Linked DNA regions of Homo sapiens: region 2 is linked to region 1. Evidence: promoter capture Hi-C in human tissues and cell types (Jung and others, 2019). All regions are on one chromosome and are shown on one strand. The core of a region is centred on a gene start or on the middle of the fragment in contact, and the rest is flanking DNA. Distances in the headings are between cores, read along the strand shown.

Region 1 (4,225 bases), core at 1,011-3,510:
CCAGCTACTTGGGAGGCTGAGGCAGGAGAATCGCTTGAACCCAAGAGACAGAGGTTGCCGTGAGCTGAGATCATGCCACTGCACTCCAGCTTGGGCAACAAGAGTGAAACTCCATCTCAAAGAAATAATAATAATAATAAATAATAAGATCCCTTCTTGGTTGATCCACACACTTCCTCTCCATCGCTGGGGCCTGAGCCATTCTCTGGTTTGCATTCCCAGAGGGCTTCCCTCTGGAGGAGCTACTGTACCTGCCACTTCTGCAGCATGATCCTGTCAGAGCCGGGGTATCTCCTGTGGGACAGAAAACCAAGGTGGTGACTAAATATACCAAGGCAAGAATACAAACAGGGGAGAGGTGGGGCTTGCCTGGGCTTCACGGGACCAGGGTGTTCAGGAAAGCTGCAGACTTCCCAAATCCCAGAGCAACTCTCAGCGGACAGCACAGGGAGACTGTCATCCAGCTCTTCTTGCCCCACCCTGGCCTGCTGAAGGTTAGGTTCTTGCAGTCAGTGTCCCTCCGCTGTGATGCCAGAACAAGCTGCTGCCTCAAGAATTCCAGGGGACATGCAGCCTCAGGCTTGGGGGCCTCCTTCACAACCCACACAGAATTCCCCTGCCACATCTCGGCCTTCTTTATCCCTGCCCCGACCCCTTGTTTTGCTCGTGGATAAAATGCAAACAACGTGGAAGGCCATGAGATATGGCCTAAGGGTCTCCCAAGAAGGGTCCACAGTCACCAGTTTCCAGTGTATGTTCCAGAAAATGTTTTACCCATATGCCTGCCTATATGCCTACATAGTTTTTTTTGTTGTTTGTTTCTAAAAAACTTCAATCATACATGGGATCACATCGTACACCCGGTTCTCCACCCAGCCTCCCTTGTGCTGCAGCAGCCCTGGAGACCGGCTCACACTGCCCTTTCGCATTCATCTCTGCAACCACGGGGCAGGGTTGCACAGCTGGATCCTAACTGATTCACCGCCCCCATGACAGGCTTTGTTCTCACAACTGACGTTTCCAGGAGCACCTTTTGGCACATGTCTCTGGGTACTTCTGTGAGTAGCTGTGGTGCTACTGGGTTAAAAAGTATGAGTATTTACCATTTTGCTACCTATGGCCAAATGGTTCCTTTAAAAGGCCATACTAATGTACATGGCTAAAATTAAGACTTAAATATCAAACCAAAGAAGTCCCATTGTGGACTGCCCTGGTAGGAAAAAAGGGTAACAAAATGCAATACTGGGGAGAGTGTGGGGAGGAGCCCCTCTCCCTTCACCTGAAACCTCTCTTCTCTTCAGCAGAGATTACAGAGCCCAGCTCCTCAGCCTCCAAGGTGCCCCTTTGCTCCTTTTCCAGCCGTTTCTTCCCCAACTCCATAAGACTCTCCTCTACCCCCAAGACCAGGTCTTCTCAAGATGCTCCACCACACCAAGCCAAATCATATCCGTTCTCTCCATCCATCCCCTCTGCCACAGTTCTATTCAGGTACCTACAGACCCAGTCCCCACATACTCTCTGCTCCACCTGCATGGTCTGTGTCAGGACCCTGCCGGGCTCAGTCTGGACAAGGCCTGGCTGCCCGTGTGTCCCAGGGGGACAGTGCTGCTTCACATTCCCATCATAGCCCCACCGTCACATCTTCTGTCCTGGGCTCTCCATCCCTCTGCATTCAATTCTTTACTTGGCAGATTTTCCATAAGCAGAAAGCAACCCTCAGGCTGGGATTTACCTCTTCATCCCTAATAGAGAAGTCATCTATTTGGGCCATGTATCCAAGCAAGCAACACCCAACAATAAGCAGAAGCAAAACATGCTCCGATATACTGCTTTAGCTTGTAAAGGGTCAAGTGAAGATATGGTTCTCCTGCTGTGTCTGCGACTCTGCCACCCACCCAGTTCTGGAGGGTAGGCTGCTCTTAAGGCTATAGGCAAGGGCAGAGCCCAGGCTGGAGACAGTGAGGGTCATCACCTTGAAAAGGACCTGTGCTGAGCCCTCCAGAGCCATGAGCATGTGGAGTTGGCCTGCCACAGCCTGCTGCTCTTGCTACTCTGTTTTAGAAGTTGACAGGGGAGTGAGGACAGAGGAATGAAAGAAGTGGAGCTAAATGTGCCTGTTAGGATCCAGGAAATGAGATTCAGTCTCTGCTCTCCTCCCTTTCAGACAAGGTTCTAGAATTTTGCCTGTGGTCACTTGTGATGTTACTATCAGGTGGAATGGTGTACAGAAGAAAAAGGCATTTCACCATCCCCCTCCTCATTTCATTGGCTATCAGCTTCAAGGAAGTTCCATTATTTCTGGTACCATCAGAGAAAGACGCCATTACCAGCAGTTCCAGGACACCTAACCAAAGGTGAGATCTATTTTTTAAAAATATTGTTTTAAAATCATATTAATCTGAAGGTGATTACAGAACTCTTAAAATGATCTATGTGAATTTTGTTGGTAACTGGTGATTAGTTGAAAGTATTTCTTTAAAAGTTAATAAACCGCATCATCCATCATCCATCATTATCATGTAAGTTTTAGATTAAATAAGATGTTGCAAATGGCTCTTGGCTTTCTAATGTGCTCCTGAGATCCGTGGGAGGCAGCCTGAGAAAGAGCTCTGGCTGTGAAGTCAGGGACACCTGGATCTAAATTCTATCTCCACCACTTAAATGGGGGGCCCCGAGCAAGACAGCAAGCCGCTCTGATTTGCCATATCATCCTTGCAACACACTGGCCACACCTGTCACACAGGGGTGTGGGAGAGCCAGTGAGACCATGGGTCTGGAAAAGGCTAGCATTGGTGTGGGCACGGAGCTACTCAACAGGCGTGGTCCTGGCGATGTTGACATTGTTCAGGAGCAGGGGAGATTCTTTTCTACTCTTGGAGGAAGGAGAGTGCAGTGGCAGAGTGGGGCCTGCTTCTGGTCAAGACCTTCTTGGCTCTGCCAGTCCCCCTCTGAGTGACCTTAGAATTGTGCAACCTGGGAACCTGGGCACCTGCTCAGTCAGCCCAGTGGACACAATTCTGAGAAGCTCCTCAGGGTTTGCTGGGTGCCTGCATTGAGCTACAAGACAAGACTGGGGCCTGTGGGCAACTTGGGGTGGAGCAGAGAAGAACAGAAGAACTCGAATGAAGCCAGTGAGGATTGTGGCGGTTACCCGGCCTGGCCTTATTGGGCCTAGCACAGGCGGACATACAGGGGACATCACATCAACCCTTTCACTCCCTTCCCACCCAGGACAGGTGTCCACCTCTACTGGATGACTTCAAAGATGGAAAGATTATCTCTGAATCAGGACGTCGTGGGTAGTTCAAGTTCTTCCTTATTTTCAGGGGTCATTTACACCCATCCTGCTTCATTTTTAACCAAATCTCTGTCCTTTACCCCCCCAGACGAGCTTCAGAAGCTTGAGCGCTACTGCCATGTGGCCTTAGGGCCTTCCCTACCCCACACTGCACAGCATCAGTGCCCTTGAGTTGCCCCATAGTCCTGCTTTGACTCTTCTCCCTTGGGCCAGCTCCACCCAAACAGCACCTCCACCCTACCCTGAAACCAGGCCCCCAGAGCAGGTGGCAGAGAGGAAGGAGCCAGAGGCATGTTCCAAGAGCTCTTCCTCCATCGGGGGCTGGCAGAGCAGCCTGTGGCTGGGCCTCCAGATATGGTGGGTTAGACCCCAGACCAAAGGCTCTCAGCCGAGGGACTCATCTGGCTAAAGGCTGCACCCTCTCAGCCCTGGAAGGAGTCTGGGGTCTCTGCCTATCCTCTTCTTCACCTGGCACTAGGAGGCTAGGTGTAGCCCTAATATGGCAGACAACTACAGAGGGCCTGCAGGTTAACCTGGGACCCCGAGCTAATGCAGACACATCTCAAAATCCTGCTGCCTCTCCAAATTCTCCCATGTTGTGTTGCCTATTTGCAAAAACAGTTTTGAGGACATGGTAAAATGGGTTAGTGAGTGACTGAGGGATTTGTTTCTTGAGTTAAGAAGCACTAGGCATACGCAAGCCACAATGAGAAGAAAATTTGCTTATGTGGGCAAGCTGGAAACACAGGCCTGCTGATGCGTGTGGGCTATTTCTCAGGACAGGAGAAAAATAGTCCAGCTTGGCCATTGCCAGGCGAGGCTTCCTGGGTAGGGAATGTGTGAGCTGGGGAGATGCTGGGGGCAGAGTGTGGCAGGGGTAGAGTGTGGCAGGGACAGAGTTGTTCAGTGAGAAGCCAAACACACTCC
Region 2 (4,615 bases), core at 1,296-3,795, 42 kb after region 1:
GTTCCCATGGTAGGAAGACCTTGGTGACAGGGATGGGGTGCTTCTGCAGAATGTGTGGGAGGGCAGGGGGCCTGACCACAGCTTGGAGTTCTGTTGAAGCAGGAAGCGAAAGGTCCACTCCCAGGGCAAGCGTGAAGCAGACACGAGAGAAAGCACCCATGCCATCCTCAGACTTTTTCACTTCTGAGTTATGGCATGGGTGAGCCAGGGGGTCAACTTACCAGAAACTGAACTAGGGAATCTAGTTCAGTGCGTGCAGCTGGGCAGCATCATGGGTTGATCTACAGACTTAAGCAGCACAGGGTCCCCTGCCGAGGCCATTTTGATGTGGCCCCACTGGCATAGTAAAGTTTTTGTCAGGGGTATTTCCTTAATGCCTAAATTAAATTCACATAACTATCTTTTCTTTTTTTTTCTCCCACCCTTGTTTCCTCTCTAACTCCCTTCTATTCCAAGCTATGTAAATAATAAACTTGGAATAAGAGATAGAGTGAGTTACCTATAAGATAAGCCTCAGGGATGAGATGAGGCCAAGGAGAGAGAATTCCCAGGGCTGAAGGGAGAGTTAGGGAGAGAAGAGACCTGTACATGGAGGGAAGGATGGGGTGGGGTAAGATTCAGACTCAGAGGTGGGTACTGCACCCAATAGCAGAGTCCTGTCCTGCATCTACCTGGCTGGAAGTGAGTTCTCAAAGTCCAGTTCATTAACTCTCCTGAGCAGAGAGAAGGTATCTGCAAGGATGTTGCATACCTTCTCTCCTCTGCTAGTGAACAGGAGACTCTTGGATTTTTTTCTACAAATAGAAATATAAATAATGTGCAAAACAGGAAGTGAATGCAGAATTTGTGGAGGGTACAGCTTGCCCTGGATACCTTGAGTGCCAAGCTCTGCCTTTCTCCTGGGAGAATCCAGGGATGGACAAATGGTGGCCTTGCTCAAAAAGCTCTCCCTTTGGCTTCCACCACTTCAGGTGAACCAACCCTCTGGAAACAATCACCATGTACTTGGGGAAAAAACCCCACTGACTGATACCTATCTGCTACTCTATATAACATGTGAGGTAGACATATAATCATAAAAAATAATTTTGAGTACCTATTTTGTGCCTAAAATTGTACTCAGTGCTGTATGTATAATAGTGGAAAGGCAGGACACGGCCTCCCGCTCACTGAAGGGCAAGGAAACCAGAGAGGTGCCCACAGGAGCTAATGTGGCAGAGCTGAGGTGGAGATTGGCCCAGAACCAGCAGCACTGCCCAGAACCATCAGGGCAGGGCTGCTACTTCCACTCTGCTCTTCCTGCTCCTTCACCCTGCAAAGGCCCTCAGGAAGCTCAGGCAAAATGAGAACTAACTGTGTTGCAGGCAAAAGCAGCAGAGGGAGGAAGAGTGCTCATTAGAGGGCTAGAGTGGAGCTGCTGGCAAACCCTTGACAGGAGGGCAGCTGGGGCCTTTCAGGAATTCCCCCACCTTAAAGGCCACCCTGAGCTTCAGTTTCAGAGAATGATAGTGAGCCCTCTTGCAGGAGGGGTCACTGGATGAATCAATGACCTACGTACAGAAAATAGATTTACAAATGAAAAATGTCTAGTTCATCTAGGCCAAGCACTGCTCTCTTGCTGGCCTTTGGAACTAAGTGATCCTGTAGAGAGGGTGGGAAGAGATCCTGACCCTCCTGTTACGTGGTCCCTAGGATCCCCTTTTCTGCCAGCTGCCCTGGAGGCCCAGGGACTGGGGATGCAGCTTTGCTATTGCTGAGCTTGGGGTAATGAAGGCAACATGTGTTTGATGTCACTGGGGGCCCCTGAAGTTTACCCTACTCCCTTTGCTGCTCAGGTGATGTTTCTAGAAAGTGTGATCTATCTGTGAAGTGGGATGAGAAGTGGGAGGTTATGACCAGCTTATGGCTGAGCTTTTCCTCTGAAAGGAGCCACCATCACTGTTGCATGCCTGGCTAAGCCCTTGAAGGCATGGGTGAGGCACTGAAAGATCCTGGTTGGAGGGGGCAGCTGGGAGATCCCTAAACCACTTGGCCCCAGAAACAGGGCCAAGCAGGAGCTTGGCAATAGGCGAGCACCTTGGGGAGAAAGGGGGAGAGTATGTCAGCAAGGGAGGTCTTACCCCTGTGGGCAGGACAGGGCAGAAGGCACTCTACTCCCAGTTATCAGCTCTACTGGGAGGTAATGTATCTGTCCTGCCCTGTATTCCTAAATCTCCAAGGCAGCTCTGGGCTGTGTCAAGAGCAAAACAGCGAAGCAGCTAAATCCTAAAAGACACAGCAAAAGGCCCAACAGCCAACGGCAAGGACTGCAGAGTGGAGCAGAAGTCAGAACTCCCACCTGGGACCAGGGCCACCACAAGCCCAGGGAACTTGCGGGTGTCTCCTTAAGGGCACTGGGCTGTGCATAGGCACAAAGAAGAGTCACAGAGGTGTGTCTCTGGATGGCTCCTGGACCACCTGTCCCATGGCCCTGCCTCTCGCAGGCCCCAGGCGTGCCAGCACCCAGTGTGCTTACCTGCAGGAGGAAGCGAGCCTGCCGTAGCTCCCGCATGTCAGCGTAGCTGTGGCACTGGCACGAGTAATGGTCAGTGGACCTGTCTTTGCTGCACAGGTTGAAAATGAACGGATCGCTGATGCTGAAAAGGAAACAGGCATGCAGGGCACATGTTCAGACATCAGAGTGAGGACACGTGCAGGCTTCTTCTTCTTCCTGCCCTCCACCAGCTCCACCCACATTTCCAATGACACATCAGAGAAGTGCGGTGGTCACTGCCAACCAGTGTGCTAGCCCTACTCATCTGAGAAATCCTTGCTGAGTGCTTGCCCATGTCAGCTCTAGCACTGGCCGCTGACACGTGAAAGCTGCCCTGCCCTGGAGGAACAGGGTGGGGTGCCAGCCTCACCAGGCCAGGGGACAGCAATATGACGGCGCAGTTTCCAGGATGATGCTGACAAAGGGTATGAGGGTCGGGGTGAGAAGGCCCCTGGGTGAGAGTGGGGGCCAGCAGGGAGGGCTTCATGGGTCCTGTGCGTGACTGTAAACCATGCCCAGGAGCCCTCGTGGGTTCCTGTGGCCTCTCTTCCCTGGCTCCCCCATGCCCAGCCTGGCGCTGTGCCAGCTACCTCTGCCCAGGCGTGACAGTCTCAGCCCCAGGATACCTGCCGTGCCACACACCTTAGTCCCTCTGCCCAGGTGTTCTCGTTTTGTATTGAATGACCTCTTTCCCTGGCAGGGCTGAGGGGCTGGACAAGGTAACTGAGTCAGGTGTGGCCTGTGGCTGCCACAGGGACTGACAGGACTCAGACCCTTCATGGCAGGATTGGGGAGTACAGAGCACTTGGCAGGGAGGTTTGAGGGAAGTCAGGTGACTGTGAGACTGAATGCAAACCAGAGTTAGGAGGGGTCAGGCACCACAGGGAAGAGGAGGGAGTGGAGCAGAGGAAGGCAAAGAGGCCGCTGGCAAGGCATGAGGACAGCACCTAGAGCTCATCTGCACAGCGCCTGCATCCTGAGAGGCTGCCCAGCCTGGCCTGGGCCCTGGCAACCTTCAGGATGAGGTCTCTTCAGAGGTGAGTGAGGCTCTCACTGAGACTGTAGAGTGATGTCTCGTGTCAAACCAGGGAGCTCTTCAGGACCCTTGGCCTGTCTCCCTGACATCTTCGGCAGCCCTGAGAGCTATCTGGCTCTCAGCTGAGCTGCCCCTAAACATCTCTGACTCCCAGTGGGGCCATAGTGGTAATTCTCCTTCCTACCCTTGGCTTAGGTCAAACCACATCCCAGGTCAAGGTACTGGTGGGGATGACATAGCCACTCATCTGTGCTCCCAGCATCCATGCTAACAGGAACCACAGCAAATATCCTTTGCCCCTTGGCGGCATGTCTGACTGGTCTGTCTCCCCTGCAGACCATACAAAGGCACAGGCCTGAGCTGCTGGGTATACCCAGCCCAGGACAAAGAGGTGTACTGAATTCTGAAGCGATTGCTCAGTCACACAGCAGAAATAACTTCCTGAAAGCCAGAGCTCATTCAGTTTGCAAGACCCAGGCTGGACAGAGAAAATGTAGGGAGTGCATCTTAAAATTCCCAGGCCAGGCCTGGAGCAGTGAGAAGCAATCTTGGAGAGGTGATAAGGAACTCACTGAAAAGGCAGAGAAGGGACCCACGTGTGATGAGGGACCCACCTCCTGGGCACCTGGAGGAACAGAGGCATGCCTCCAGCAGGCATCAGGCAGTCCCGAGATGAGGCCCCTTGGAGAGTTATGAGGGGTGTGCAGGAAGCTTTTCCAGAAAGATCTCAGAGTGACCCCTCCTCCCAGAGAAGCAGAAGAGAGGAGGGGAAAGGGAGGATAATAAATTTGTCCAAATATTTATTCCCAAAGAGAACAATTTGTACACTGGAAATAACTGAAATGCCTTGAGCTAATCATATGAAGCTTTTCATCATCTGGACACATGGGAGCTTCAGAAATAAAGTTGATTTCTGTTATAGACAGTTACATTTCTGAACATCTGGGGCATGTAGTCATCTTAAATTGTGTATACAACCACAGCCATTCTGATAAGATGCCAGGACTAAGAAACGAAGGCCTCCCAAGCACGCCAGCCCTCAAGAA

Evidence for each region. The method cuts DNA at HindIII sites, captures the fragments that hold promoters and counts their contacts. A contact is called where the count stands out against the background at its distance.
Region 2: a contact is called between a fragment that was not itself captured here and the fragment with the promoter of LRRC18 in region 1, in 3 of the 25 tissues and cell types used here (aorta, liver and stomach).

What each region holds. Positions count from the first base shown.
Region 1 is chr10:48,937,875-48,942,099 of GRCh38, reverse strand. It overlaps LRRC18 (leucine rich repeat containing 18), which reads left to right and starts at 2,260. Exons shown (of 4, transcript NM_001378102.1): 1 at 2,260-2,354. It overlaps WDFY4 (WDFY family member 4), which reads right to left. Exons shown (of 62, transcript NM_001394531.1): 48 at 252-294. The HindIII fragment of the contact is 9,630 bases long and covers 1-4,225 here.
Region 2 is chr10:48,895,475-48,900,089 of GRCh38, reverse strand. WDFY4 (WDFY family member 4) reads right to left here. Exons shown (of 62, transcript NM_001394531.1): 45 at 2,516-2,636. Among named protein-coding and RNA genes, the nearest start is that of LRRC18, 42 kb to the left of the region's middle. RefSeq lists an enhancer at 2,012-2,772. The HindIII fragment of the contact is 6,329 bases long and covers 1-4,615 here.